Linked DNA regions of Homo sapiens: all the other regions are linked to region 2. Evidence: promoter capture Hi-C in human tissues and cell types (Jung and others, 2019). All regions are on one chromosome and are shown on one strand. The core of a region is centred on a gene start or on the middle of the fragment in contact, and the rest is flanking DNA. Distances in the headings are between cores, read along the strand shown. Region 1 overlaps AGK (acylglycerol kinase). Region 2 holds the start of ADCK2 (aarF domain containing kinase 2). Region 3 overlaps TMEM178B (transmembrane protein 178B). Region 4 overlaps TMEM178B (transmembrane protein 178B). Region 5 overlaps AGK-DT (AGK divergent transcript).

Region 1 (2,700 bases), core at 45-2,544, 980 kb after region 2:
TATTAATTCTTGGATGATTAAAAGTTTTTTTATTAGAATGTTCTTTATCCTAATTAGTTCATTTATCCAAGAATACATGAATGTGATTTACAGCTGAGATGGGGTTCAACCTCAGCTGTATTCCTTGTTTCTGTATAGATGTAAGCACATAAATTCGATGGAATAGAATTACGTTAACAATGTTTTTACAGTTCTTTGGATTCCTTTGGCATTTTGACAAAGATCACAGTGCTCTATCATCAAGAATTATTAATGATGATCTATCAACTAACAAACAACTTGATTAGATTCTCCTTTAGTCTGTTGAAAGCAGAGAACTGAAATCCACCTGATTTACCATGGCTTTGCCAGCCAGTCATTAGCACCATTTACTTTTACTATCGCTGACATTTTCCTTTGTTCAGTGGCCCTGAGGTTCTTACACTCTAGGGGGCAGTGCACCACAGGAAGATAGATCAATGAGGGAGGATTGCGAGGGGGAAGGGGAGGAAGCAGAGCTGGCAGGCCTTAGCTACAGGCTCTCTCTCAGGCAGATCCCTTTTAAGATACATACACCATGCCCACACATCCCATGGAGAGAGACCAATGCTTTAGTAGATTACAGAACAGCTATGAAAAGTCCATGAATGAAGATCACAAAAAGGAAGGCTTTCTTATTTCATACTGTATTCTTCAGGGTGGTAAAATTTCTGCTTTTGGCAAAAACATAACAGACGGTTCCAAACATCAGCATAAAGATCACTCATCCCATACCACCCACAGGTAGGGAGGAAGGATGCTGTAGTATATGAAAACAAAAGTTTTCACCTGAGCTGAGAGCATTTAGCATATCGTGGTTCTGTAACAATATCAAGGACCAGTGCAGAATCTGGCTTTCTTTTCTGATAGGCTACCAGTGTGTGTTTATGTGTGCTCATTTTGTGGTTCTAATCATAATGGTACATATAATTAGGGAAGGATATGGAAGCCACTTTAGAATCTTATTCATTTTTAAATATAAATATGCCTTGTTTCAAACTTTGTTTTCTTGATTCAGGCTTTCTTTCCTGTGAGGGCTTGGTTTCCTTATTGTTGACTGCTTTGTTCTTTGCCTTGTCCTTCCCTATAAAGCCTGCATGGAAGACGTTTAATAGTGCAACTAAAAGAGAGTCAGCTGAGTGAGGCTTGTCAGCCAAAGCTGGAATGCTGAGCTATCTGGAGGAGATCCTAATAACCCAATTTGGGGATGGGGCCCAGGAATCTGCATTGGGAAGTCGGCCACCCTTCCCAGGTGATTGTTTAGTACAAACTTTTTGACAGATTAATTTCACTCAAATGCAAAGATTAATCCCAGCACTTTGGGAGGCCAAGGAAGGTGGATCACCTGAGGTCAGGAGCTCGAGACCAGCCTGGCCAACGTGGTGAAATCCCATCTCTACTAAAAATACAAAAATTAGCTGGGCATGGTGGCATGTGCCTGTAGTCCCAGCTACTCTGGAGGCTGAGGCAGGAGAATCGCTTGAACCCGGGAGGCAGAGGTTGCAGTGAGCCGGGATCGCACCACTCTGCACTCCAGCCTGGGTGACAGAGCAAGACTCCGTCTCAAAAAAAAAAAAAAAAAAAAAAAACCGTAGTTGCTTTCTATTAAGATAGGGTTTTAAATAAAGCTTTTTTCCTTTCCCTCACAGCTGTTTTGCACATATCTGGATGCAGTTATATTTCCTAAGTGCCAGTGCTTCACATATGTAACTGATGCATCAGTTCTCACAACAACCCTAGGAAGTAGCTACAGGTTGAGCATCCCTAATCTGAAAAGGCGAAATCTGAAATGCTCCAAAATCCGAAAGTTTTTGAGTGCCACCATGATCCTTAAAGGAAGTGCCCAGTGGAACATTTTGGATTTTGGATTTATAATGCAAAGATTCTAAAATCCTAAAACATCTGAAATCTGAAAATACTTCTAAGTCCCAAGCATTTCGAATAAGGGATACTCAGCCTGTAATAATATATGGTTACATAGCACAGAAAATAGGAACCTGACTTTGAATCCAGGCCATTTGATTTACAGAGCCACCGATAGCAATGTACTCTATACCGGTTCTAAATACATACTGTAACTCCCCAAGAGGTTAAAAATGAAATAAAAGTTTAGAATATACACATATACCAAATATATATCAAGTACATAAAGTTTTAAACTGAACTTTGATAAGAGAGTTTGTAAAGTAAAAGGGTGGTGGTCTCTGTGGGATTCTAGAAGTTTCCTGATGTAATTAAGGGTACACAGCCCTGGCTCTTCTGGGTGGCGCAGTTATTCCCAACTTTGTTTCCCATTACCTGGAGAAAGTTTGTCCAGACCGTGGCTTCTAGAAGGACAGGTAGCAGCTCCCCAATCTCCTCCATCATCACTGTAAGTGAAGTCAGGTTCAGCCCCCACAGGCTCTGCTCATGGAGTAGGCCACCATTCCTTCCTACCACAAACCACATTTCTCGGACTGGAGAAGGGATTGCAGCACGCACGTTCATGTTAAAATGTGAACTTTAATTGTAAAAATCATTTTCTGTAAATATAGTTATATCAACCTCTCTGCACACAACTTGGTTCAGATATATACAGATATGATATTCATAGATGTTATTTGTACCACAGAACAAAATCAATTCAAGAAACATTTACTTTTAGCTTCAGGATTAACCCCAGCTTTCTTTAGGCCTTAAAAT
Region 2 (2,700 bases), core at 13-2,512:
GGAGCCTTTCCCCAAGGTCCAACACAATTGCCGAATTAATGCAGCCGAGGACACAGCATCCAGTTCCTACTCCTGCAGCCCAGTTACCCCCATCCAACACCACCCCCCTACCCAACCCCCGCTGAAAAGCGGACCTGTGTTCAGAACCTGCCTTCATACTTTTCAGCCATGCTCTTTGGAATAATGAAAGATACGAAGAAGTCAGTGGGAAGATAGACATGGGGAGGGGGACATAGAGGGTGCCTTTGCGTTTTGCTACCCAGGACCCAGGACTCAAGGGCAGGGTGGTCTTGGCCTGGGGTCGCCGTCCTCTTTAAGGGGCGGGTCAAGGGACCCTGGCTGCCCGGGCCTCTGCCACCGACCCTCTGCTCCCTCCGACCCTCACCGCCCAGCACCCAGCCCTCTGCCCCCACCGGCCACCCTGTAACAGCCCAGCGGGTTCACCTTGCCTGCTGCCTAGACAGAGCCGATTTATCAAGACAGGGGCATTGCAATAGAGAAGGAGTAATTCACACAGATCAGGCTGCGCGGGACACTGGGCAGAGTTTTTAAGGACAACTTGGTGGGTGGGGGAAGGCCAGTGAGTCGAGAGTGCTGATTGGTTGGGTCGGAGGTGAAATCTTAGGGAACTGAAGCTGTCCTCTTGTGCTGAGTTAGTTCCGGAGTGGGGGCCTAAGATCAGATGACCTGGTTTATCGATCTGGTAGGTGTCAGTTGATCCATCAAGTGCAGGGTCTGCAAAATATCTTGAGCACTGATCTTATTAGCAGTTTAGGGAGGGTCAGAATACTGTAGCCTTGCTGCCTGACTCCTAAATCATACTTTCTAATCTTTTGGTTAATTTGTTAGTCCTACAAAGACAGTCTATTCCCCAGGCAAGAAGGAGGTTTGTTTTCAGAAAGGGCTGTTATCATCTTTGTTTTAAACTATAAAGTATAAACTAAGTTCCTCCCAAAGTTAGTTCAGCCAACGCCCAGGAATGAACAAGGACAGCTTGGAGGTTAGAAGCAAGATGGAGTTGGTTAGGTCAGATCTCTTTCATTATCTGTTATAATTTTGCAATGGCGGTTTCAACCTAGTGGCCGAACCCGTCCCATCCATCTCCCGCGCCCCTCCGCTCCACCACAGCCCTCGGTGCCTCGGTTCCCTGCACCTGCACTCCCGCCCGCCCCCGACGCTCCGCCCCCGACGCTCCGCCCGCCCTCCACGCTCCGCCCCGCCCTCCCGGCCCCCGCCTGCGCCCGCGCCCTGGGCTGGTGCCCGCCACCCCAGCGATCTCATACTGGCCCCTGGGCGCACGGTGACCCTGCGGCTGCCCGGCCCCTGCCTCCGCCCGCGCGGCCCCCTCGCTCAGGTCGCGGGCGCCCGGGGCCTGGCTTCGCGTGGGTCCTGGCTCCTCCCGTTCCGCAGTTGGTGCCGTCTGACAGCCCCTTCCGCGCGGCGCGGCGCGGCGCGGCGGGTGTCGGGCGGGGCGCGGGCCTCCGGCCTGAGGCCCGGCGAGGTGCTGGAGGGAGCGGGGCGCGGATCCGGCCCAGATGGGCAGCTCCGTCCGCGGGGTCAGGGCCGGGCTTCGGCTTCACCGCAGCCTCGCCTGAGCGGGCGCCTCTGAAGTGGAGGGCGGGCCGCCTGGGCCGCGGGCCTCGGGAGGATGGTGGCGCCCTGGCGCGTCTCCGTCAGGGTTTGCCTGTCGCACCTGAGGTGCTTCGAGCTCAGACAGGGACTCAGCCTCCTGAGGCCCTCCGAGTGCCCTCGCGATGCCAGGCTCTGCTGGCTTCTGCTGGGCACTTTGCCCAAGGTCGTCTCCCTGTGCGGGGACGTGGGTGAGGGGGCCCCTGACGTTCTGAGTCGGCGAAGGGTCCGCTGCAGCGGGGCGGCTGGCGCGGGGCCCGCGGAGAGCCTCCCCCGAGCGGGACCTCTGGGCGGCGTCTTCCTGCATCTCCGCCTCTGGCTTCGCGCCGGCGCTCTGTTGGTGAAATTCTTCCCCCTCCTACTCCTCTACCCCCTCACCTACCTGGCTCCCAGCGTCTCCACCCTCTGGCTCCACCTGCTTCTGAAAGCCACCGAGACCTCAGGCCCAACCTACATCAAACTGGGCCAGTGGGCCAGCACCCGGCGCGATCTGTTTTCGGAGGCTTTCTGTGCCCAATTTTCCAAGCTGCATGTCCGAGTGACGCCCCACCCGTGGACTCACACTGAGCGCTTCCTTCGGCAGGCTTTTGGGGATGACTGGGGGAGCATCCTCTCTTTTGAGAACCGGGAACCTGTGGGCTCAGGCTGCGTGGCCCAGGTGTACAAAGCATACGCCAACACTGCCTTCCTGGAGACTGACAGCGTCCAGAGACTTGGCAGGGCCTCCTGTCTGCCGCCCTTCTCACATACTGGGGCAGTCGGTGGGCTGAGAGAGCTCTTTGGATACCTTGGAAATGGCCGGAAACCTCCAGAAAATCTCGCAGACCAGTCGTTTCTAGAAAGGCTGCTCCTCCCTAAAGCTGACCTGGTTGGATCAAATGCAGGGGTGTCTCGGGCTCAGGTCCCTGGCCACCAACCTGAGGCCACCAACCTCATCTCCGTGGCAGTGAAAGTAAGTGTTGTGAGAGCTCACAGCTCACCTACCCACTGAGCTATCCCAGATCAGAAACAACCGCCATGCAAATCGCCCCCACGTTTATTTCTATTTGCCTGACCAATATCTGAGTGCTT
Region 3 (2,700 bases), core at 155-2,654, 550 kb after region 2:
TCACCAGCACAGTGGATCCTTGCACACCTGGGGCAGAGAACGTCAGTGCCAAGGAGCCATCCTGAAGCAGGGTACAGCCTGGCTGGCAGAGGGAGGGAGAAGAGAGGAGAAGAGGAGGGAGGGAGCAGTGGGGATGGAGGAAGGGAGGCAGGAGACCAAGACTTTGTGGATGAGCAGGGACATTTTAGTGTCCATACCACTAGGAGGGACAAGAAGTAAAAATCCAGAACTGTCTCACTTACTGCAGACATGTGGATGACACACTTGGCTCCCTGTCCCCACAGCTCTTGATCTCTCACCACTGCCTGTGGGTTGGCTCAGTCTTAAGGGACCAGTCCTGACCCCAGGCTGGTGTATGGTGGGAAGCCCAGCGTGTCCTGGTGCTCTGGTGTGGATCTTGGGGCAGGACTCTTAACTTATGTTTCTTGGCTAAGCCCAACCCGGCCCCCCACACCTGGACTCTCCGGTGCCCTCTTCCTCACCCTCTCCCTTTCCAGAATTAGAGGGTCCTGCCCTTGAACCCCAGGGTCCCTGGTGCTGTCTAGACTCTCTCCAGCCACCCTGGGTCCTCCCCTCCCCACTGGCATCAACCTTCTCACCCTGAACTTGTGTTGGCTCTTTCCCTGATGGTACCTGCCTTCCCTTTCCCAGTGGACTCAGCTGGCCAGTTCTAGCCCAGCCTGCTCCAATGTAGAATGGCCACCTTCTGAACTTTCTTCCCACTCAGAACTCTCTGGCTTTCTCAGCCTGGGAGCTGCCTAGACACCTGGTCCGTCCTCCCCCAGCCATCCTTGTTATGAGAAGATGAATGCTGTGGACCAAAGGGCTTGGGATGAAACTAACAGTAATAACAACAGTAAGCACCTCTTTTTGTTCAGTCAGCTGTAATGCTGCTCAGAGGATCACTCGACGTTTCCTCCCAGGAGTCCCTCCCGTGTTGTTGTGGCTCCTTTGCAGATGAGGTAACCGAGCCAGTGGGAGGGGCTGCCTAGAGGTCCCATCTCAGACCTCAGAGGAATCCGAGGGTGAGGGCTCAGAATCCAGGCCTGAGCTCCAGTAGGGTCCCTCCAGCTATTTTTTTCTTCATGTTTTTGGCTGATGTTATGGAAAACAGCCTAATGAGGTAAACATCCCAGACATTAGAAGCTCAGGTCCCCTGCAGCATCAGCCATTTTCCTTCTCCCACATTCGCATCGGTGCTCAGCCAGTATGAGGCTCTTACTGTTTGCGATCTGTTGTTAGCTGCCTCTTGCTTGCAAGACTGGGATCCACAGGGGTCATCACTAGCAAGAAACCACCTCCTTGCCCCAGAACTAGAAAAACTTGGTAGCAAGAAGACTCAGCCAACAGCGTGTCATCATAGGTTGCCTTGAGTCCTGAAGTCTTTGCTTTTTGCAAACCATTCCTTGTGTCTCTGCCCCAACCCGGCCCCTGCAGAGAATCTTGTAAACCTTTCAGTATACCCACTGCCTTGTGCCTGTCCTCCCAGAGCTCTGGTGGTATTTATGCACCAGGCCAGGCAGAGAACACAAACCCCTTAATGTGATATTGCACCAAGATCTGTTCTTGCAGAAGTAACTCATGCCAGGACACTTCCTTTCCCTCTCAGCTTTCCTGCCTGTCAAAACTGACCTCTTATTTGTCCCATTCCCTCAGGTTTCTGTTGGAGAACAGGCTTACTGATTTGATGAACATGCTTGAGTTAGGGGGTTAATGTGTTCTTGGATTACCTTCCCTGGATAGCATTTTTATTTTTCAGGAGGCCTGCCCCAAGGAATGATGGCAAGGGAATTATAGGTAACGTAGAGACGCTTTAAAATTATGAATGTTGGGCCAGGCATGGTGTCTCGTGCCTGAAATCCCAACACTTTGGGAGGCCGAGACAGCTGGATCACTTGAGATCAGGGTTCGAGACCAGTCTGGCTAACATAGTGAAACTCGTCTTTACTAAAAATACAAAAATTAGCTGGGCGTGGTGACATATGCCATACTTGGGAGGCTGAGGCAGAGGCAGGAGAATTGCTTGAACCTGGGAGGTGGAGTTTGCAGTGAGTGGAGCTCGTGCTGCTTTACTTCAGCCTGGGTGACAGTGAAACTCCATCTCAAATAATAATAATAATAATAATAATAATAATAATAATAATAATAATAATAAAATAATAAATGCATGTGCATGTACAGCTGTGGGTCCCACCTACTTAGATAGCTGGCCTGGCTGGGGGTCAGTGATTAAAATGCGCTGTAGCATGGCTGCCTATACAAGGGCGCCCTCTACATGGATAAGAGGGAGAGTTTATTTTTGAGATGACCTAGGGGGAGGGAAGGGAGGAGGCCTGGAGTAGGGGTGGGAGGGAGTACAGTACAGCCTTTTCTGTTAAAAACATCCACGTCCTGAACAAAACCTAAGAACCACTGTGCTGGTATAATTACAGTCTTCAAGCCACAATTCATGTGAACGCACAGGTCCAATTTTGTGCTGGGAATTAGTTGGAAGTCTGGCCTGGAGGCATTCTCTCAGCTTCTGCAGATTGGAAGTGGTTTTCTTCTGGCTGAGCGCACTGATACGGACACCACACCATGAAGGAGAACTGGGAGAACAACCCCACTGTCCGCCTTCATCCATTTGTTCATTTGTTCATTCAATGGTTGTGGAGTGTCTGTTCTGTGAGAACCCCCATGTTGGGTGCTGGAGGGGATATT
Region 4 (2,700 bases), core at 139-2,638, 570 kb after region 2:
TCTCAAAAAAAAAAAAAAAAAAAAAAAGAATTTATCTGGTTCCTCAGCTACCAAGGCTCCAGCAAGATTTGAGGGCACGTGGTGGCGTTGGTTTCTGTCAGACCTCTTTAAAGGAGCTTCGCTTTGCTTCCTTCAGAATAGGCCTGGCTAGTTGAAACACATGAACTACATACCTAATTTTAGATTTTCCAGTAGCCACATTAGAAAAAGTAAAAAGGAATGGGTTGACTTAAATTTAATAGTGTATTTTACTTGGCCCTATATATCCAAAATATTATTCTTGTTTCAATGAATAATCAATGTAAAATTTATCGAGAGATCTTTTTTTTTGCACTAAGTTTTCAAAATCTGGTGTACTTAAAACACATCTGAATTTGGGTGCTACATTTTCATCAGAAATACTTGATCTATAGTTTTATAGAGTCCATAAAACTGACAATTGAAAATGTGAATGCACATATCCAAGTTATTCCAGACATATTTAAAAGCTTTTTAATAACTGAATTGAGTCCCAAAAAATCAGCTCTAATATTCATGCTCCTATTAATAGAACTGGTTTATCTTTTTGAAATAAGATTAACTTTGAAGCAGATTGACTTTGAAGCAGAGTGAAAAGTAGTCCTACCAAACAAAGTTGTGTTTAGTGGCAACAGGCTTTATATTGCCTTCATTTTAAAATTTAAGTGGAAGTTTGATTAAAATTACATCAAAGTCGAAATTTACTTTCTCAATCCCAGTAGCCACATTTCAGCTAATCAATAGCCACATGCCCGGCTATTTTAGAATCTTTTAAAGTACTGTTGAATTGAAACAAACAATATAAACAGAGCAGAACTGCATAGTGATTTCCTCATGGTATTCGCTCTGTGGCTATTTTCACACTTTGTGTGAGTGTGTGTGTGTGTGTGTGTGTGTGTGTGTGTTTCTCCATTACCTACCTTCCCGATTCTTTTCCTTTTTTTTTTTTTTTTTTGAGACGGAATCTCACTCTGTTGCCCAGGGTGGAGTGCAGTGGCATGATCCTGGCTCACTGCAGCCTCTGCCTCCCAGGTTCAAGTGATTCTCCTGCCTCAGCTCCCGGGCAGCTGGGATTACAGGTGCTTGTCACCATGCCAGGCTAATTTTTGTATATTTTCAGTAGAGACAGAGTTTCACCACATTGGCCAGGCTGGTCTCAAACTCCTAACCGCAAGTGATTTGCTCACCTCTGCCTCCCAGAGTGCGGGGGTTACAGGCATGAGCCACCGTGCCAGGCCCCGATTCTTTATCTGAGATTCCAGCTGCTGTCTCTCTGCCTTTGAGTTGCATTCACTCCTGTCTCCTGTCTTTATGTCATTGTTTTCCACTTTTCCCTCCATCTACCTTTTTTTCTTCCTCTTTCTCCTCCTTTTGCATCTGATTTTCTTCTTGAACTAGGCACAAAGTCTATTTTTTAAATGTTCTTTTGTGTGTTGGCTAGCTTTAAATCCCCAGGAATAAAATAAGAGAGACAGTTTAGATTTTTCATTCACGTTAAATAAAGTAAAACTTAAACAAACCCCAAACAACCAAAGTCATGTGACCCTGGCTTGATTGCCTTTTTTTCGGGTCATTGACTAATGAAGGGGAGAATTGTCTCTTTCTCGGAGTCCATGCGAGGTCAGCCTGGGACTCTGTGTGTGGTTTTGCAGAGAGGGCCTCTGGGATGGTCACTTGTGGATTTTTGTTCTTTTGTTTTTGACTCCAACCGTTAACTTCTGCTTGGAGATTAAAAATGACACTGAAGTCTCTCAGCACTTCTGTCTTTGTAAGGGGTGGAGCGCGGTCAGCTCTGCTCTATGGGGTTATGGCAGCCATCAGAAGTAGGAAGAAGCCTCTTAACCAAGGATGTGAGATGCTGATGAAGCTGAGGGAAACGTCAGCAGGGGCTGGTGGTGTCCTCAAACGGAGACTGGAGGAAGGGGAGCAGAGGGGAGTGAGGCAGGAACCTCAGGTTAATTTGGGCCAGTAGAAGTGTGACCGTTACCAGGTCACTCTCCTCGCTGGGCCTCGGCTTCCTTCCTCCTTCTCAAATCCAGCTGCACTCTTTGTGGTTCCCCTACTGTACTGGCCCATGGGCCCAGATCTATTTTGCAGAACATTCTCGTTCTCATTGCCAGCCATGCAGCCAGTGACAGGGCTGAGAAGAGGTGAAGCCAAACATTTGTATTATTAAAAGTTATGAGGGGAAGGAAAGTAATAGTGGCGAGTGTATTTTCATGTTCCATTTCACTCCTGGAATAATTCAAGTCCGTGTGGACCATTTTTGCTTGACCTGTCAAGACCCAAACATGTATCCACCACTGAATACCCCTGTGTACCTGTGTCCTCCACAATGCCTGCCCTCATGACGGTCCAGTATTCATAGCCTTCCACTAGAGCTGGTAGAAGAGGCAAAACCGGGGCTGCGGACATTTTGGGGGAGCGTTTTGTGCAGTTCAGTCTTATTCAGTTTACCAAATGTTTCTCACGATTTTTTCAAACCTATATTTTTAGGCTGTTATTTTGCACCAGGTCCTGAGATAAGCATTGCATAAAGCTCAGCTCATTTACTTATGTGCCAGGGTAGACAGGTCCTTTAAAAAAATCCATACAGTTCCTTTCATCCAGAGCTTGGAAGTATGTCTATGTAACATAACTGACGGTGTAAAACGTAACTCACGAAACAGGTAACTGTGCAAA
Region 5 (2,700 bases), core at 61-2,560, 860 kb after region 2:
GGATTCAGTGCTATTTATACTGGGACTCTCATCCCAGTCCTAAATCTAGCATAGGAGCAGACAGATAGATGCCAAAAAAATACAGCAACGATTCATGATAAAAACTCCCAGAAAACTAGAAATGCAAGAAACTTCCTTAACCTGATGAAGAGCACCTATGAAAAATATATAGCTAAGATAACTCTTAACGGTGAGATTCAGAATGCTTTTCTCCCCAAATCAGGAACTAGACAAGAATATCTACTCTCACCAATTCTATGCAATAGTCCCCTTAAATACTAATTGATAATATAAAGAAATAAAGAGATAAAAAATATTGAGATTGAAAAGCAAAAAGTAAAACTGCCCTTATTTGCATATGACATGATTGCATACATGGAAAATCCTAACAACTACAAAATGTACTATACCAAGGAAGTGTATTTAGTAAAGTTACAGTATCCATTTTTTACATGAATGTAAAAAAAAAAAAAAAAGTATATCTAGGCTGGGAGCCATAGCTCATGCCTATAATCCCAGCACTTTGGGAGGCTGAGGTGGGCAGATCACCTGAGGTCGGGAGTTCGAGACAAGCCTGACCAACATGGAGAAATCCTGTCTCTACTAAAAATACAAAATTAGCCGGGCGTGGTGGTGCATGCCTGTAATCCCAGCTACTCGGGAGGCTAAGGCAGGAGAATCACTTGAACCCAGGAGGTGGAGGTTGCTGTGAGCCGAGATCGTGCAATTGCACTGCAGCCTGGGCAACAAGAGTGAAACTGTCTCAAAAAAAAAAAAAAAAGTAATCTAGGCCGGTCAAAGTGGCTCATGCCTATAATCCCAGCACTCTGGGAGGCCAAAGTGGGTGGATCACCTGAAGTCAGGAGTTCGAGACCAGCCTGGCCAACATGGTGAAACCCTGTCTCTACTAAATTTACAAAAAATTAGCTGGGCATAGTGGTAGGCGCCGGTAATCCCAGCTACTCGGGAGGCTGAGGCAGGAGAATCGCTTGAACCCAGGAGGTGGAGGTTGCAGTGAGCCGAGATTGCGCCATTAGTGAAACTCCATCTCAAAAAAAAAAAAATGTATATCTATATTCTAGTAATCAACAATTGGAAATGGAAATTTAAACAATACCATGTATAACAGTACTAAACAGTGGAAAACACTGAAATATATTTAACAAAATATGGTGCAAGACATGTACACTTAAACTTAAGAAACATTACTAAGAAAAATGAAATAATACCCAAATAAATGGAGATAAATACCATATTTATAAATCGGAAGACTCAATTTTATAAAATGATTAAATCTTAAATTGGTCTATAAATTCAACATAATCTGGATCACAAGCACAGTTTTATTTTTTGTAGACAAAAAATAAATTGACAAGATGATTCTAAACTCTGTATAGAAATTCGAAGGACTTAGAATAGCCAAAATATTTTGAGAAAAGAGAACAAAATTGAGGACTTAAACTAGCCAATTTCAAGACTTACTAAAGAGCCTTATTAATCACGATAGCATGGTATTGGCATAAAGATGGACATACAGATCAATAAAACAGAGTAAAGAATCCAGAAAAACTCCATACATACATGGTTCAATGATTTGCCAAGGTAAGTCAGTGGAAGAAAGGATGGCATTTTAAGAAATAATGTTGGGCCAGGCACCATGGCTCATGCCTGTAATCCCAGCACTTTGGGAGGACAAGGCGGGTGGACCACCTGAGGTCGGGAGTTTGAGACCAGCCTGGCCAACATAGTGAAACCCCATCTCTACTAAAAATACAAAATTAGCTGGGCATGGTGGCATGTGCCTGTAATCCCAGTTACTCAGGAGGCTGAGGCAGGAGAATCGCTTGAATACTGGAGGCAGAGATAGCAGTGAGCCGAGATCGCACCATTGCACTCTAGCCTGGGCGACAAGAGAGAAACTCCATTTCAAAAAGAAAAAAAAAAAAAAAAAGGAAGAAAAGAAAGAAAAGAAAAGAAAAGAAAAGAAATAACATTGGAACAACTGAAGAGAGGCATATGGGAAAAAGAACCTCAACCCCTACCTCACACAGTTCACAAATATTAACTTAAAATAGGTAATAGACCTAACCAAAAAATAAAAATAAAAATTATAAAACTTCTGCAAGAAAAAAAAAATCGGAGAAATCGGAATGATATTGCATTAAGCAAAAAACTCTTAAATGGGCCCTACAAATATGAACTATAAAAGAAAAAAAATCAATAAATTGTACTTCACCAAATGTAAAGCTTTTGCTTTTCAAAAAGCACTGTTATAAAAATAAAGCACAACATAGACTGGAAGAAAATATTTGCAAAATATATCTGAAAGGGATTTGTATCTAAAATATATAAAGAACTTTAACAATTCAATAAGAAGAATTTTTTAAATGGGCAAAACATTTCAACAGATGCTTTGTCAATATCTTCCACAGATGATTAGATATATTAGGATGTCTTCAGTTTTAAAACTAACATACCAAGTGCTGGTGAGGATGTGGAGCCATTGGAAGTCTCATATCCTGCTTCCAGGAATGTAAAGGAGTGCAACCAGTTTGGAAACTAGTTTGACAGTGTCTTAAGAAATTAAACACACTTACATAAAACCCAGCCATCACTTTCCTATGTATTTACCCAAAAGAAATAAAAACATAAACATATATCACAAAAAGACTTGTATACAAATGTTGAATGCACCTTTGT

What was found. The method cuts DNA at HindIII sites, captures the fragments that hold promoters and counts their contacts. A contact is called where the count stands out against the background at its distance.
Region 1: a fragment that was not itself captured here is called in contact with the fragment with the promoter of ADCK2 in region 2 in 1 of the 25 tissues and cell types used here (hippocampus).
Region 3: a contact is called between a fragment that was not itself captured here and the fragment with the promoter of ADCK2 in region 2, in 1 of the 25 tissues and cell types used here (thymus).
Region 4: a contact is called between a fragment that was not itself captured here and the fragment with the promoter of ADCK2 in region 2, in 1 of the 25 tissues and cell types used here (dorsolateral prefrontal cortex).
Region 5: a fragment that was not itself captured here is called in contact with the fragment with the promoter of ADCK2 in region 2 in 4 of the 25 tissues and cell types used here (dorsolateral prefrontal cortex, lymphoblastoid cells, mesenchymal stem cells and 1 more).

The regions. Positions count from the first base shown.
Region 1 is chr7:141,654,228-141,656,927 of GRCh38, forward strand. AGK (acylglycerol kinase) reads left to right here. Exons shown (of 16, transcript NM_018238.4): 16 at 1-1,017. It overlaps DENND11 (DENN domain containing 11), which reads right to left. Exons shown (of 9, transcript NM_001080392.2): 9 at 2,501-2,700. Among named protein-coding and RNA genes, the nearest start is that of DENND11, 47 kb to the right of the region's middle. The HindIII fragment of the contact is 3,669 bases long and covers 1-2,700 here.
Region 2 is chr7:140,671,683-140,674,382 of GRCh38, forward strand. ADCK2 (aarF domain containing kinase 2) reads left to right here and starts at 1,263. Exons shown (of 8, transcript NM_052853.4): 1 at 1,263-2,581. The coding sequence starts at 1,649. RefSeq lists a silencer at 1,198-1,657. The HindIII fragment of the contact is 30,105 bases long and covers 1-2,700 here.
Region 3 is chr7:141,218,207-141,220,906 of GRCh38, forward strand. The region is part of intron 2 of TMEM178B (transmembrane protein 178B); the gene reads left to right. Among named protein-coding and RNA genes, the nearest start is that of TMEM178B, 150 kb to the left of the region's middle. The HindIII fragment of the contact is 6,566 bases long and covers 1-2,700 here.
Region 4 is chr7:141,241,587-141,244,286 of GRCh38, forward strand. All of the region lies in intron 2 of TMEM178B (transmembrane protein 178B), which reads left to right. Among named protein-coding and RNA genes, the nearest start is that of TMEM178B, 170 kb to the left of the region's middle. The HindIII fragment of the contact is 3,481 bases long and covers 1-2,700 here.
Region 5 is chr7:141,535,549-141,538,248 of GRCh38, forward strand. All of the region lies in intron 1 of AGK-DT (AGK divergent transcript), which reads right to left. Among named protein-coding and RNA genes, the nearest start is that of AGK-DT, 14 kb to the right of the region's middle. The HindIII fragment of the contact is 4,128 bases long and covers 1-2,700 here.